3 separate regions of the Homo sapiens genome follow, and regions 1 and 3 are each linked to region 2. Evidence: promoter capture Hi-C in human tissues and cell types (Jung and others, 2019). All regions are on one chromosome and are shown on one strand. Each heading gives the region's core, a stretch centred on a gene start or on the middle of the fragment in contact. The rest is flanking DNA. Distances are from core to core; before and after follow the strand shown. Region 1 overlaps LINC01707 (long intergenic non-protein coding RNA 1707). Region 2 holds the start of LRRC7 (leucine rich repeat containing 7). Region 3 overlaps LINC01707 (long intergenic non-protein coding RNA 1707).

Region 1 (4,621 bases), core at 1,831-4,330, 480 kb before region 2:
TATGTATAGTGTTTAACAGAAGCACTTGTAAAATGTTGAGTGCCAGAGTTGTGGGGTGAAATTTCAGAGGAAGGGTAAAGCATGTGATCTCACACGCTATGTTCTAGCCACAATAATAGCTCATAGGTATAAGATAATTTTCCAGAGGTCCTATGAGTGTGTGTGTGTGTGTGTGTGTGTGTGTGTGTGTAACTTTTTCCCATCAACCCAACAATGCTAAGCTCTAAGCTCTAGGTTTAAAATATCTGGTTTTGAAATGCACTTTCACCACCTTGTAGCTGAATTGTGTTGTCTACATTTTTTTGTGCCACTATCTCCTTATCTGTTTTAAAAAAAATACTAATTTTAAAAAGCCTTATTGTATTAAATGTGAGGAGTAAATGAAATAATTTATATAAAGATCTCAGTGTAGAGCTTGGCACATGGAAGATTCAGTAAATAATACTGTGGCAGATATTGTTGATTGCTTACTTAATATTCATTCACTCCTTCTTTGCTGACAAAACTCCAGATTGGGGAGCAATGTGCCCAGATAGACGCTCATATTTCAGTTTCCCTTGAGCCAACAGTAGCCACACAACTTCATGGCTTGGTTCTGTGTCCTTCATTGCTTGGTTCTGTGTGCAGCTGTGCTTAACACATGGTAGATGGAAGTCTCCTGAATGTTTTGGGGGAGGGTTTGCTTTCCTATTAAAAGGGGATATATCTGCCTGGCATCATCCCTTTCTCATTTTTCTTTCCTTGAATGTGGATCTAATGTCAGGAGCTGAAGCTACCATATGTGACCCAAGCATTGGGGCTCAGAAAATGATAACACAAAGTATGGCACTTTGGCATGCTGAGTACTTTGAACTAAAGGAGATGGGAAAGCCTCAAAAGCAAAATCTCTCTCTGACCTTCTCCTGCTCTCTTTCTCTCCTGAAGTGAGTCGTAGAATTCCTCTTGCCTAGAGTGGGTCATAGAAACTAGAACCCTTTCCCCAAAGCAAGCCATTAAACTTAGAAAGGTCACTCTTTTCTCTTCTCCCTTAAAGAACCTCATATCAGAGGGGTCCTGGCCCATATCTAGGAGGAAGGAATTCTACAGAAACCCAGAAGAATCTGAACAGACAGGACTTACTGGGTTTTCCTCTGTCTTTTACCACTCAATCACCCTTTTTGTCTAATCACATTTCAACATGGATGTCCACTCTTCATCAAACCTAAGCATAAAAGTAGTTTTCCCTGGGTCTTTTGGTCTTCATTTCTGAAGGCTCCTGTGTCACATAAAACTTTGATTAAACAAATTTGTCATGCTTTTCTCTTGTTAACCTATCTTTTATTATAGGAGGATCAAACGTAACACTTACAATGGGTGAGTAAGTGCTACGTTTGCTCCTCCTATAATATCAAGTTATCACACCCCTTTCCTGCCCCTACAGTTTCTGGTGCCCAATGTGGGGTCATTGAAACACCTCACACCAGATCTTGGGACAACTAACAAAAAATCAACAACAACAACAACAACAACACACATTTTTTTTTTTAAACCAAGGTCACCTCTCCTGGATCTCTGCCTGTAGTGCCCAATTAAGAATGGAAGGTAAGCATTTGTTTTTATCCCTTCCTTCCCAAATTCAGATTAGCAGGAAGAAATCATTTGTTTGGATTGTGTCTTTTGTGTAAATTTGGTTTGGAAGTACATATTTGTTATTGATCTTTTCCTTTCCGGGGACATCCATTTCTTTCCTATTTGTCTTGTTCTGTGTCCTGAAGGTTTGGTTTTATGATCAGTGAGAATATTCTCTCTGGTCTCTACCAGCTGGGGGATGCAAGTGTCAGCTTACATCAGGCAGCCAGTCCAAATGTTTTTTTTTTTTTGTCATGTAGTGTCAGCTCTCAGGGGAATTTGTCTTATTAGAGGTTCCAATTCATGAGAGGCCTGTTTTTTTTTTGTTTTTCTTTTTTTTTTTTTGTTTTTTTTTTTTTGGTCTCAGCCTTCATTGCTTAGTTCTGTGGCAACAAAGGTCTTTTTTTCTTTTGACTGTCTTTTGCGGATGATTCTGGATCTTGGGAGGACTACATCTTTTTGCACCCTCTTTTCAGGACATCTCTTTCATCCTTGGTTAAGTCATAAAAGACTGACTGATTTTGGTTCTGAGTCACTTGGTTGGGGCCTCAGTTTAAAAGCAGAAAAAAAAAAGCCACAAGTAGTTCAAGCAGTTGCTGTTTGTTCTGGCTGAAATCTGAAAATAAAATATTTGAAAAGTTTTTTTGTTTTGTTTTTTTCTTCAATGAATTCTGTGGTCAGAAGTCTGATTAATTGAAAGCTGATATTCAGGCTTTACTTTTTTTAAGGCCTCTGTGTTCTCACTATTGGATATTGCTTCTTCCATGGGAACTTAGTTGACTGAAACTCCTCTTGTTGAATCCCTGCTAACTATATGCTCAGCCCTTCTGTTTTCTTTCTTGCTGGCAAGATTTTTTTGCTGAGGAGAATGTAGAATATCATTGGTTTTTTAGGGGGATGGGGAAGGGGACTCAAAATCTTCTTAAACTGGCTTCTCTAAGACCCCTTCTTAGAAGGACTCTGGTTTCTGTGGCCAGACTTTAGTTAGGCTTCTAAACCTTCTCCTAGGTCCATCTGTATATGTCCTTGTAAAATCCTGTAGTAAATTCCCATAATTTTATGTTACCTCAGCATTCATTTTGAATCTTCCTCTGTGTCTCACTTAATTGACATACCTGAGCCTAATGAGCCTCCCAGTTGGGGCTCTACCATAGAGTGGCTATCTTGATAAGCCCATCTCTCTCACTAGAGAGTGTCTATAAACACTCTCTAGTGAGAACTTCAGACAAAAATCGAGAAAAATGCAACAAATTCAGTTGTAACAGAAATGGATAACTCGTCCACTCAGGTGGGTCTTTGAAGACATTTAAACAGCTGTAAGATGTCTCCTCAGGCACTAGCTTACAATCTAGTTCATAGTCTCCATAAGATCGGTCTCTGATAGTAGGCTTTCTCTGTGCCTTTGATTCGTAAATTTTCTACACTCTTCTCTAGAACTTGATAGTTACCCTTTGCAATAAAAACTTCAGGGAGATGACTTTCATAGAAAAGAGAAAAAAATAAACTATTTGGAAACTGGTCAAATGAAAACTCTTAAAAGCCTTCTCCAGAAAAATTGGTAAAAAGCTGTAGTCATTTGAGAAGATAGCCTTACCTTACCCATTTGACAGATCCAGCTAGTGAGCTTTAAATTATTGAACCTGGCATGTGGCTAAAAGTTATAGAATAGAAACTGTAAAATCTGCTCTGTCTGTATGTTTATATCATTAAATCTAATACAGACATACATTTTTGCCTGGGTTTTTGGTACAGACAGGTTTGTATTGTCTCTGTTAGATGTTTAAGATTATAAAACTAGAAATCTAGCCTAAAAGCAGAATGCACAGTAAAACATGAATTAATTGCTTGATGCATGTCAGTTTCTAAAAAAAAAAAAAAAATAGAGGAGATAACATGTTTAGCTTTTTAGTTTGTGTCTGTGATTTTTTGATACTTCTCTGATTTGTCAACAAAAAAGATAAGATAGTGGTTAGCTTTATTTACTGTGTTATAAAATTTTCATACACAGTTCAAGCATAATTCTTAAAGATGAATGAATTAGATGAATGTGAGATAAAAGTCTATGAGTAAAATTTTCAATATAATTATGCTTTATAACATATGTCTACTTAAGAATATCTTCAAAAATCTTTTTTGGTAACTTAAAACCTTAATGTGAGATTAAGTAATATGTACTTGCTATATGCCTCAGTAAGGTAAAATACTAAAACATTAAGTACTAAGCATAAGTTTAAGTTTAAATATTTTAGCATCCTGTTTTTATATGTCATAGAGAGCTACATATATCTGAGTCTGGTAATAAGCATGAAAAACTGAGGAAACATCTTTCTGGAAATTATAAAATGGTAAATGCTGATGTAAGCCAATTTACAATGCTTGCTAGTTTTCATTAGAAATTAAGGTTACTAGAGTTAAAGATTATAATTAGCATATGTTATTAAGCTACTAGAAATTACAAGCATACCTTGGAGACGTTGCAGGTTTGGTTCCAGATCATTGCAATAAAGTGAATACTGCAATAAAGTGAGTCATACATACTTTTGATTTCCCAGTGTAATAGGAGTTATTAAGAAATTATTTTAGGCAAATAAAGAGGAAAAGGGGTCCTTGGGAAGTTTTTGTTTCTTTTAAGCAGCTCCAGAAACATTTTTTGCCTAGCAGGAAAGCCCTGGTTCTTAAAGCTCGGTCAGCAAACTTTGATATGCAAATGGGCCCCTTAGAAACTGGGTCCACCAAAACATGTCAATTCCTGGCAACTTCTTCCTTGCCCCCACATGTGCCTGGCAACATGGTTGCCCCCACATATCCCCACGTGTGTAGAACATCATGGTGCTGTGCATTTGCATATTGAAAGGCTAGGGTGGAAGGGCTAGGTTTTTCACAGCTCCATAAATGACCTGCCTGGTCAAAGCAGCCCCTGAGCCCTATGCAAATCAGACACCACCTCCTCCAGCCTTCTCATATAAGCAGCCACTTTTCCGCTGCACAGGGGAGTTTCCTCTCTTGGCTTTGG
Region 2 (4,417 bases), core at 1,201-3,700:
CAAAATTATCTTTTTCTCCATTGGAAAGGAATACGTTTGTTTCCACGTAGGAAACTACTTCCACTTAACACACAGAAGGTAACTTCATTGGTAGGTATGCTGCCTGTATGCAAGGATCTGCAGTTACTCATAACTGGCTGTGTTTTTAAACAGAATAATTTTTGTCAAATATTTTGATACAAAACAATGAAGCCTGAAGTTAAAATAAGAAATTCTGGGCTCAAGTGCAGGGCAACTGGACACCCTTATGAGATGAGCCTTTGTGCCCTTCCTGTAAGTGTGGATTAGATTATCCACCACCTAGATTTAAGAAAGGATTAAATGAAAGAATATATGTGAAAGTACTGTGTTGACTGTATTAAAAAGAACTGGAAACCCATAAAGGACCGCTATAATTGTGTAATTGTTGCGCCAGGTTATTTTGTCAATACATTTTTAATCAGCACCTAAAATATTTCATGTCACTTCATCCAGCAGAGACATTGAGATGTGGCAAAATGTTTAAAAGGACAACACTATAGGTGAAAAAAAAACAGAGCACAACAGTAGTCAATTCAAAAAAAATTCTTTTAACAATTTTATTCCATTTCCTTGCCATTTTCAGAGCCCTTTCTTTTGGTGTTTTGTAACAATATAAAAAACGATCTGGCTTTTCAAAATATACTCCTTTTCCTTTCTATATGCAAATGATATGAAACACTGGCAAGTTGTCCTTAAAAGTCAGCCCACCTTCATGGCCCAGATAAAGTGGGCAATAATTCCTCTCTAGGTCCTCCGCACATTAGGTGCCAGTCTCTCAAGTCTCTTCCTAGACAATTTCTAGCAGCCAGGAAACATAATTTTTGACCTTGAAGACTTTAGCATTCCAAATCTAAGAATACAATCAGGTGTGTTTTCTTTTGGCAAACTGTGAGCTTACACACACCCCCAGAGTGGCATTTGAATGCTGTGCACAGTCTTGACTGTGTTCGAGGTTAGAGAACTAAAGACAAGATTCTTTCTCTCTTGTAATGAAGAAACAAAAACCACATAGCCTATATTCCACAAAAGAATACCAGCATAATATATCCTTTTTTAAAGATGTAATTCATTAGATGTGTGTAGAGAATAAAAGTGTAAATATAGGCTGGGAACGGTGGCTCACGTCTATAATCCCAGCATTTTGGGAGGCCGAGACAGGTGGATCACCTGAGGTCAGGAATTCGAGACCAGCCTGGGCAACATGGTGAAACCCCCGTCTCTACTAAAAATACAAAAAAAATCATCCGGGCGTGGTGGCACGCGCCTGTAATCCCAGCTACTCGGGAGGCTGAGGCAGGAAGATCGCTTGAACCGGGGAGGAAGAGGTTGCAGTGAGCCGAGATCGCGCCATTGTACTCCAGCCTGGTCAACAAGAGCGAAACTCCGTTTCAAAAAAAAAAAAAAAAAGTGTAAATATAGTACTAGCTTCATTGATATGTCTTGCTGCTTCTGGGACTTTAGAGAAGCGTATAAGAAGAAAGTGTGTGTGCCTTTACGTAAGGGAGCATATGAGAGAGAGAGAGAGAGTGTGTGTGTGTGTGTGTGTGTGTGTGTGTGTGTGTGTGTGTGTCAGAGAGAATGTTCATGGCAGGAGGAGGGGCGGTGAATATATGAAGGGAAGTTGGGAAAACCCTTCCCTTTTTGTGCACTCCCAGGGCAGCAGCCGCAACCCCAGAATGAGGAGAGGACTTAAGAGCAGGCACAAGGTTCGCTGCCATGACTGATGTGAAGCGACCTGACGCACAAGCGGAGACTTTTCTCCTTGGCAGCCAACAACCTGCAGCAGGCAAGGCGGGCGGGGGAGGAAACCCCGAGGAGGCGCTCCCGGCCGCCTCTTTGCTGAGATAGCAGGAGCAGCAGCCTGAGGAGCCACGAGCTCAGCGTCACTGAGCTAGTGCGGGTGCAGGGGCGCTCAGGCAGGCGCACAGGCCGGGAGCCGCTTCTGCCGCTCAGGCGGCCGCGCTGCAGAAAGCCGCGCCGCGCTGCCCGAGCGCCCGGGGCTGGCCCGCGAGCGGGAGGAGCCGGCAGCCGCGCTCCGCCCCGCGCTGAGATTCGTGCCACCTGCCTCGAACACCACGGAGGCGAGAGGAACCCAGAGAGCTCGGCCTCTCGTCCCGTTCTCGAAAAGCAGCCTATCGTGACGGAGCCGGGAGAAGGCTAGCGTTTCAATCCTGTGCAGGACTGGGATTTTTCTTCTCATAATTTGGGGGAGCCGGAGTAGAGGTCAGAGGGACAGGCGAGGATCTCAAAAAGAGACCGAGGGTTGTGAACATGGTTACCCCCTCCTATCATTGGAAAATCTCCTTGACATTTTTCACACTTTGAAGCAGCTGCAGCTGGTGTCGTCGGAAAAGGGGGTGGGAAAAAAGAGAGGGGGCGGGGAGAGCGGTGAGACACAGCCAAGAGCCATGAGCGGCGCCTCCTCGCCTGCCAATCCTGGCACCTGTGCGCCGAGCCACTGCACCGAGGAGGACCCTACTCCGGGTGAACACCGGGCTTGAAGCCACGGACACCCAGCCCCAGTGCAGCGGGTTCTCGCCGGCGGGACCTGCAGCCGCCCACTCGGGCCACCGCCACCGCCTCCTGCAGTTGCGGAGCGCTCAGCCCCTCCGAGACGCCCGCTGCGCCCTGGCCCCTGGGGATCCTCGCCCTGCACAGGCGCGGCAACGGGCAGGGGTTGTTACGGAGTTGGGTGCAGGATTCGCCTTTCCTGCTTGTCTCTTCTCCGCCCAGGATTTATTGTCTGTGGAGCCTTCTGGGGGCGGGGAGGGAGCTGCGCCTCCGCCACCGCCGCCGCCGCCGCCGCTGCTGCTGCGGTCGCTAGCGCGGCGCGCTGGGCAGGCTGAGGCTGGGGAGTGGACGCGCTCCTGCCTCCCCCGCCGGCGCTTCGGGCTTCCCCTCAGCCGCTTCCCGCGGGAACCTCTCCAGCCGTCCACCTGAAGGGCACTGGCATCATGGTCTAACGTGGCACCTTCCTGGATTCCCCTCTATCTCCTGTTCTTCCTACCTTCTACTCCTTCCCTCCTCTTCTCCTCCGAAGACCCTGGCGCCCACTCCACTGCGGACCCCTGAACACTTAAGGAATAACCCTTGGCAGCTGCACGACTACGCTCTCCGAAACCTCATGGGCAGTTTCTCCCGCCGGCGATGTGAGTAAGGCACGCTCGCTCCGTGGCGGAGGGTGCTGCGGGGGCCCGGCCGCGGCGACCGTAGGCGCGCGAGGTGTGGGACCCCAGAGGCCGGCCGGGGGCGGGGGTGGCAGGGCGGGAGGCTTCGGCGCTCGCGGGGAGCTGCTTGTGCGGTGGCCGAGGGAGGCGGCGAAGATGTGGTAGGTTGCAGAGCATTTGGAAATGGGGTGCTAACTGGGCGGGTGCATGGGAGCACCGAGTAGCTTGAGCTGGCAAGAGACCTTAAAGGGTTACATACTGCGAAAAGGAAAGGTAAATGTTGGGCGCTGGTGCTGGGACCATTGGTTCCGCTGAAATTAGGTTTAGCTCCTCGTTATTATCTTGGGTATCTCCAGTCAGCTTTTTTCCCAGAGGTGTCTGAGGGATGAAGCGCGTGTTTGATCGTGACACACACACACACACACTCACACACACTTGTGGCAGGACGCACTTGTCTCTTTATCTTGGAAGGTGTTGTATCAATGTCTCGATGTCTGTTTGAAAAAATACAATTAGAAGATTTTTATGTGATTGGGATTGAAGGGAAAGGGTGGGGTTTGGGGGGATGGAGGGGACGAAGGAACATGAAAGACTGGAGGACGGAAAGAAGTGGGGGAGCGTGTTCCCTGGGAGTCAGGGAGAACCTTGCCTCCCTCCCTGTCAGCTAGACAACTCCTGCCCACACATCTCCTTTGTGTGGCACGAGAAGCTGGTGAACCTGCCTATTCCCAATCCAGCGCTGGGTCCCCTTGAGGATCTTGCGTCCTCCTCTCCGAGTTATTAAGGATGCAGGACGTGTTTCGGATTCGACGTGGAAAGAGGGAGGGAAGCACATTAGCATTAAGGTAATCATGGCACCCTGGCTCGTGGACTATTAGATTGGCTACCAGTGGTCTCTAATCTTACTGTTTGCAGAGTCAAGAATGGGGGCGGGGGTTGGGGGACTGTATAGATTGCCTTTTAAAATAGTGTGACTTCATAATAACGGAGATGGCTGAAAGATTGCTTCCTTACACTACTTCTCGGCCATCAGGGCTGAATAAAGGACCCGCCTCCGCCCTCTACTCCGGCTCTTCTCTGGCTGTCTCTTCCCCATCAAGTCATAAAGCGAGCGGGTTGGGCGAGAGGGCACAGCTCGAGGCAGAGAAGAGACGGGGTCACTTTCACAACTCCCAGGAATCGGCTTCAGAAAGGAACCATCTGCGACTCCCACGTTCCTTTCGAAGTTC
Region 3 (4,369 bases), core at 591-3,090, 460 kb before region 2:
CTTGAGATAAATGCAATTATTATTATTATCTTCTCTGTATAAACTGGGGTTAAGCTCCTATGATATTTATGAATATTAAATAAGGTAGCATATGTAAATCTCACAGCACAATAGTTAATACATAATTTTTAATGAACAATTATTATTCATATTCCCATTTTATAAATAAGGAAAGTTTTAAATGATCAATAAGTTCTGCTAAAACTTTACAGTGAATAATAGTAAAAGTGAAGTGAAACCTAGTCCTTTGGATTCCAGAAGTCATTCTGTGCCCACTAAAACTAACAAATGTGTGTTAAAACTCCCTGAACAGGTACACAGTGAAACTCAAATAGATTTTTTTTTTTTTTTGAGATAAGAGTCTCACTCTGTTGCCCCGGCTGGAGTGCAGTGGTGCAATCTGGGCTCACTGCAACCTCTGCCTCCCGGTTCAAGCAATTCTCGTGTCTCAGCCTCCCAAGTAGCTGGGATGACAGGTGCCCACCAACACACCTGACTAATTATTGTATTTTTAGCAGAGATGGGATTTTGCTATGTTGGTCAGGTTGGTCTTGAACTCCTGGCCTCAAGTGATCCACCTGCTTTGGCCTCTCAAAGTGCTGGGATTATGAGCCACCATGCCTGGCAGAAACATTTTTCATTGGAAGTGATTATACATAGACAGATTCTAACTTTTCACTCATTTCATTTGTTAATTAATTAATTAATTTTTAGTCATATGTTTCTCTGTAAAATACCTTGAATTGAAACTTTTATTTTTTTTAATGGCCTACCAAGAGACAGCTTGGCTCTGGGAATAGAGCACAGGCTTAAGAACTGTTAGAGGGAAGATATTCTGTATTGCTTTTTCTACTAGGCATGTTTCATCCTTTATAAAACATAATCAATTGCCCTAAATACCTATGTTTTATTTAACATTGATCCCATCATCTTGGCCCCAGCTGAGTTAAGAAAATGGTAGACACGTAAACCAAAGTGAAAGAGAGGCTATAGATACATGACTTGTGTGCTTGTGTGGCTCAAAACGGTGATCTGGGACAATCAGAACCATTCCTACCATTCTCTCTTTCTCTCTCAGTCTCTCTCTGTCTTGGGAGTTTTTACTTAGGGACTCAGTAAAAGTTGTCAGTTGACAATGGCACACAAAGTTTAAGTAGAGTTAGGGCACAGAAGATGGCAATATGAGCTCTATGAACTATCGGTAAATAGGAAGATAATCAGTAAAGAGAAATGGAATGATTTAGATGGGCAGAGAGGAGGAGTGCAATTCCCAGTTCAGTCCCCATTGGGTCAGCTGTACTCGATTCCTATTCCTGGATCTGTATGAGAACCTACTGAGCAGCCTTATAATACCACAGGTTCCAGGTTAATTGATCTAGCTTTGTGGGTCTTTGTTCTTTGCAAACTAAAGAACTCTGGCTGAAATAGTGATGTCACAGAGGCATTGTCAGTGGGACAGACATTTGAACTATTTCACACCCTTGCTACTTCACATGCAGGGATAGGAAGAAAAAAAAGAGAAACATTCACTTTCAAGATTTGTTCTAAATATTTGCTTCAAAGCATAAATCAAAAGCCTTAGTAAATATAACTACATACGGAGGCCTAACTGATTGCCAGCAAGAGTTCCTGAAGAAAGCCATATATGGACCCTACTATAGTTATTCTATGATTGTTGCTCATTAGGAAAAAAAAAAAAATCCTTTCTTCCCAATACAAGTTGATGCATTCTTTAGTGATATGGTGTGCATTTTATAATTTAGAAAATAAAATGGTTAGACATAATGTATTTGTTGGTGTTTTGCTCAAAGGAGTGATGGATTGGAAGGATGATCAGATAGGAAATTCCAGGAAATGTTTTAATGGTGGTGGGATGGATGGCGACAGCAGAGATTCAACTGATGGTATGAGAAGGCAGGTTGCAGAGCACTGAATTTCTTGTTGCAGGCTCTTTTATTTCAGATACAATGTGGCCACATCCTAAGTAATAAAGCAAAGCCTCCAAAGGCAGTTCAAACGTAATATGTATTTAGCACTTGTGTGCCAGAGATTATACAAGTTTTAAGTGATGTATCAAAAGAATAAGTAAATAAATACCCTTGAAAATCCCAATAATGATTACAGGGAGATTGACAGGCATATAAACCATTCATTATGGTATGGTGTGATAAGTTTTTGTGATGGACCTATGTGCACAAAACTCTGAGAATTCATAGGAAGAAGCAATTCATTCTGCCATGGAGTGTGGCAAGGTAGGGAAAGGTTTCAGAGAGGAGATGGTACTAAGAAGGGCATAAAGATCAAGACCATCCTGGCTAACACGGTGAAACCTTGTCTCTGCTAAAAAAAATACAAAATATTATCCGGGTGTGGTGGCGGGCGTCTGTAGTCCCAGGTACTTGGGAGGTTGAGGCAGGAGAATTGTGTGAACCCGGGAAGCAGGGCTTGCAGTGAGCCGAGATCGCACCACAGCACTCCAGCCTGGGTGACAGAGCGAGACTCTGTCTCAAAAAAAAAAAAAGAAGGGCATAAATAATGAATAGGAATTCAGAAAGAACAGAAAGGAAAAGTTATTGCAGGGAGGAAGCACAGACTAAGCAAAGAATTGTTGAATGGAAAGGAGAGCGAGAGCCTAAGGAGAACTCCCAGGAAGCTTTTGAGATAGTTTCTTGGTAAACACCTAGCATAGTTTGGTGGCTGTAGCAGAATCATTCAAATACTCTTGGCTGCCCAATCCCTTTCTCCACTCCCATTAGGCTGAACATTTTGAGCGAAATCTAATTTAAAATCAGCAGCTGATACAGACATTAGTGATGGGGAGTAAGTTGTCTCAAGGAAATCTCTTCGTAAGTCATTTGATATGTCCTTGTTTCCTGTCGAGAGGCACCCACAGACTCCTTGACCCATGTTCAAACTGGCCCTGGGCTAAGTGGGGTATAGTTAACTCAAATGAAATTCACCTTTGCAAATACTGTTCCATGAGTAATACCAAGCTCTAGAAGAATACATTTACTTAAAATAGAAGGGAAATGAGAAGGAAAATGCCCAGGAGAAGGTACAGATGAGCAACTTTAAATATTTAAAAATAGGAAAGGAAGGAAAGAAAAGCAAATGCAAATCAAAACCACGAGGAGATACCATCTCACACCAGTTAGAATGGCAATCACTAAAAAGTCAGGAAACAACAGGTGCTGGAGAGGATGTGGAGAAATAGGAACACTTTTACACTGTTGGTGGGACTGTAAACTAGTTCAACCATTGTGGAAGTCAGTGTGGCGATTCCTCAGGGATCTAGAACTAGAAATACCATTTGACCCAGCCATCCCATTACTGGGTATATACCCAAATGACTATAAATCATGCTGCTATAAAGACACATGCACATGTATGTTTATTGCGGCACTATTCACAATAGCAAAGACTTGGAACCAACCCAAATGTCCAACAATGATAGACTGGATTAAGAAAATGTGGCACATATACACCATGGAATACTATGCAGTCATAAAAAATGATGAGTTCGTGTCCTTTGTAGGGATATGGATGAAATTGGAAATCATCATTCTCAGTAAACTATCGCAAGAACAAAAAACCAAACACCTCATATTCTCACTCATAGGTGGGAATTGAACAATGAGATCACATGGACACAGGAAGGGGAATATCACACTCTGGGGACTGTGGTGGGGTGGGGGGATGGGGGAGGGATAGCATTGGGAGATATACCTAATGCTAGATGACGAGTTAGTGGGTGCAGCGCACCAGCATGGCACATGTATACATATGTAACTAACCTGCACATTGTGCACATGTACCCTAAAACGTAAAGTATAATAAAAAATAAATAAATAAATAAAAATAAATAAAAATAAAAATAGGAAAGAAAGAAAAGCAAACACTTTAAAAAGATGCCTCTTTCAGCACTAACACGCAACCGAGAAAGACATTTGTCAAGATCCCATGTGTTTTCTTGATGATACATCTCCTCCCTCTGTGAACAAATTGATAAAATATCAAGAGCTGTTCTGGAGATAGCAAGCACAAAAGAACTTACAGTAGGTGTTGTACTTTGCAGCAGTGACTGTGTCTATTTGATTCTAGCCAAAACAGTCTCCTACTTGCCTGCAGAAAAGGGTGGAGATTCTGGCCGTGACTCATAGAGGGATGGCCAGAAGAAGTGGATAGACAAGCATGGGCATCTCAGGATTTAGTGTGCCTTGTGTACCCTTGTGTGCCTGAAGAATTATGGGGGCGACCTTCCCTCATCTGCCTCCATTTACTTTTCACTCTCTCCACCTCTTTCCCTCTCTACCCCCACAAGTACATGCACACATTGAAGAGAAGAGGCTATTTTGGGAATGCTTGCAAA

What was found. Contacts are between HindIII fragments. The study calls those that stand out against the background at their distance.
Region 1: a contact is called between a fragment that was not itself captured here and the fragment with the promoter of LRRC7 in region 2, in 1 of the 25 tissues and cell types used here (dorsolateral prefrontal cortex).
Region 3: a fragment that was not itself captured here is called in contact with the fragment with the promoter of LRRC7 in region 2 in 3 of the 25 tissues and cell types used here (dorsolateral prefrontal cortex, hippocampus and mesendoderm cells).

What each region holds. Positions count from the first base shown.
Region 1 is chr1:69,086,982-69,091,602 of GRCh38, forward strand. LINC01707 (long intergenic non-protein coding RNA 1707) reads left to right here. Exons shown (of 5, transcript NR_146608.1): 3 at 1,534-1,581. Among named protein-coding and RNA genes, the nearest start is that of LINC01707, 33 kb to the left of the region's middle. The HindIII fragment of the contact is 5,298 bases long and covers 432-4,621 here.
Region 2 is chr1:69,565,472-69,569,888 of GRCh38, forward strand. It overlaps LRRC7 (leucine rich repeat containing 7), which reads left to right and starts at 2,451. Exons shown (of 27, transcript NM_001370785.2): 1 at 2,451-3,170. The coding sequence starts at 3,169. It overlaps LOC105378789 (a long non-coding RNA gene), which reads left to right. Exons shown (of 12, transcript XR_947488.3): 12 at 1-379. RefSeq lists a silencer at 1,875-2,104. The HindIII fragment of the contact is 6,759 bases long and covers 1-4,417 here.
Region 3 is chr1:69,105,359-69,109,727 of GRCh38, forward strand. The region is part of intron 3 of LINC01707 (long intergenic non-protein coding RNA 1707); the gene reads left to right. Among named protein-coding and RNA genes, the nearest start is that of LINC01707, 52 kb to the left of the region's middle. The HindIII fragment of the contact is 6,069 bases long and covers 1-4,369 here.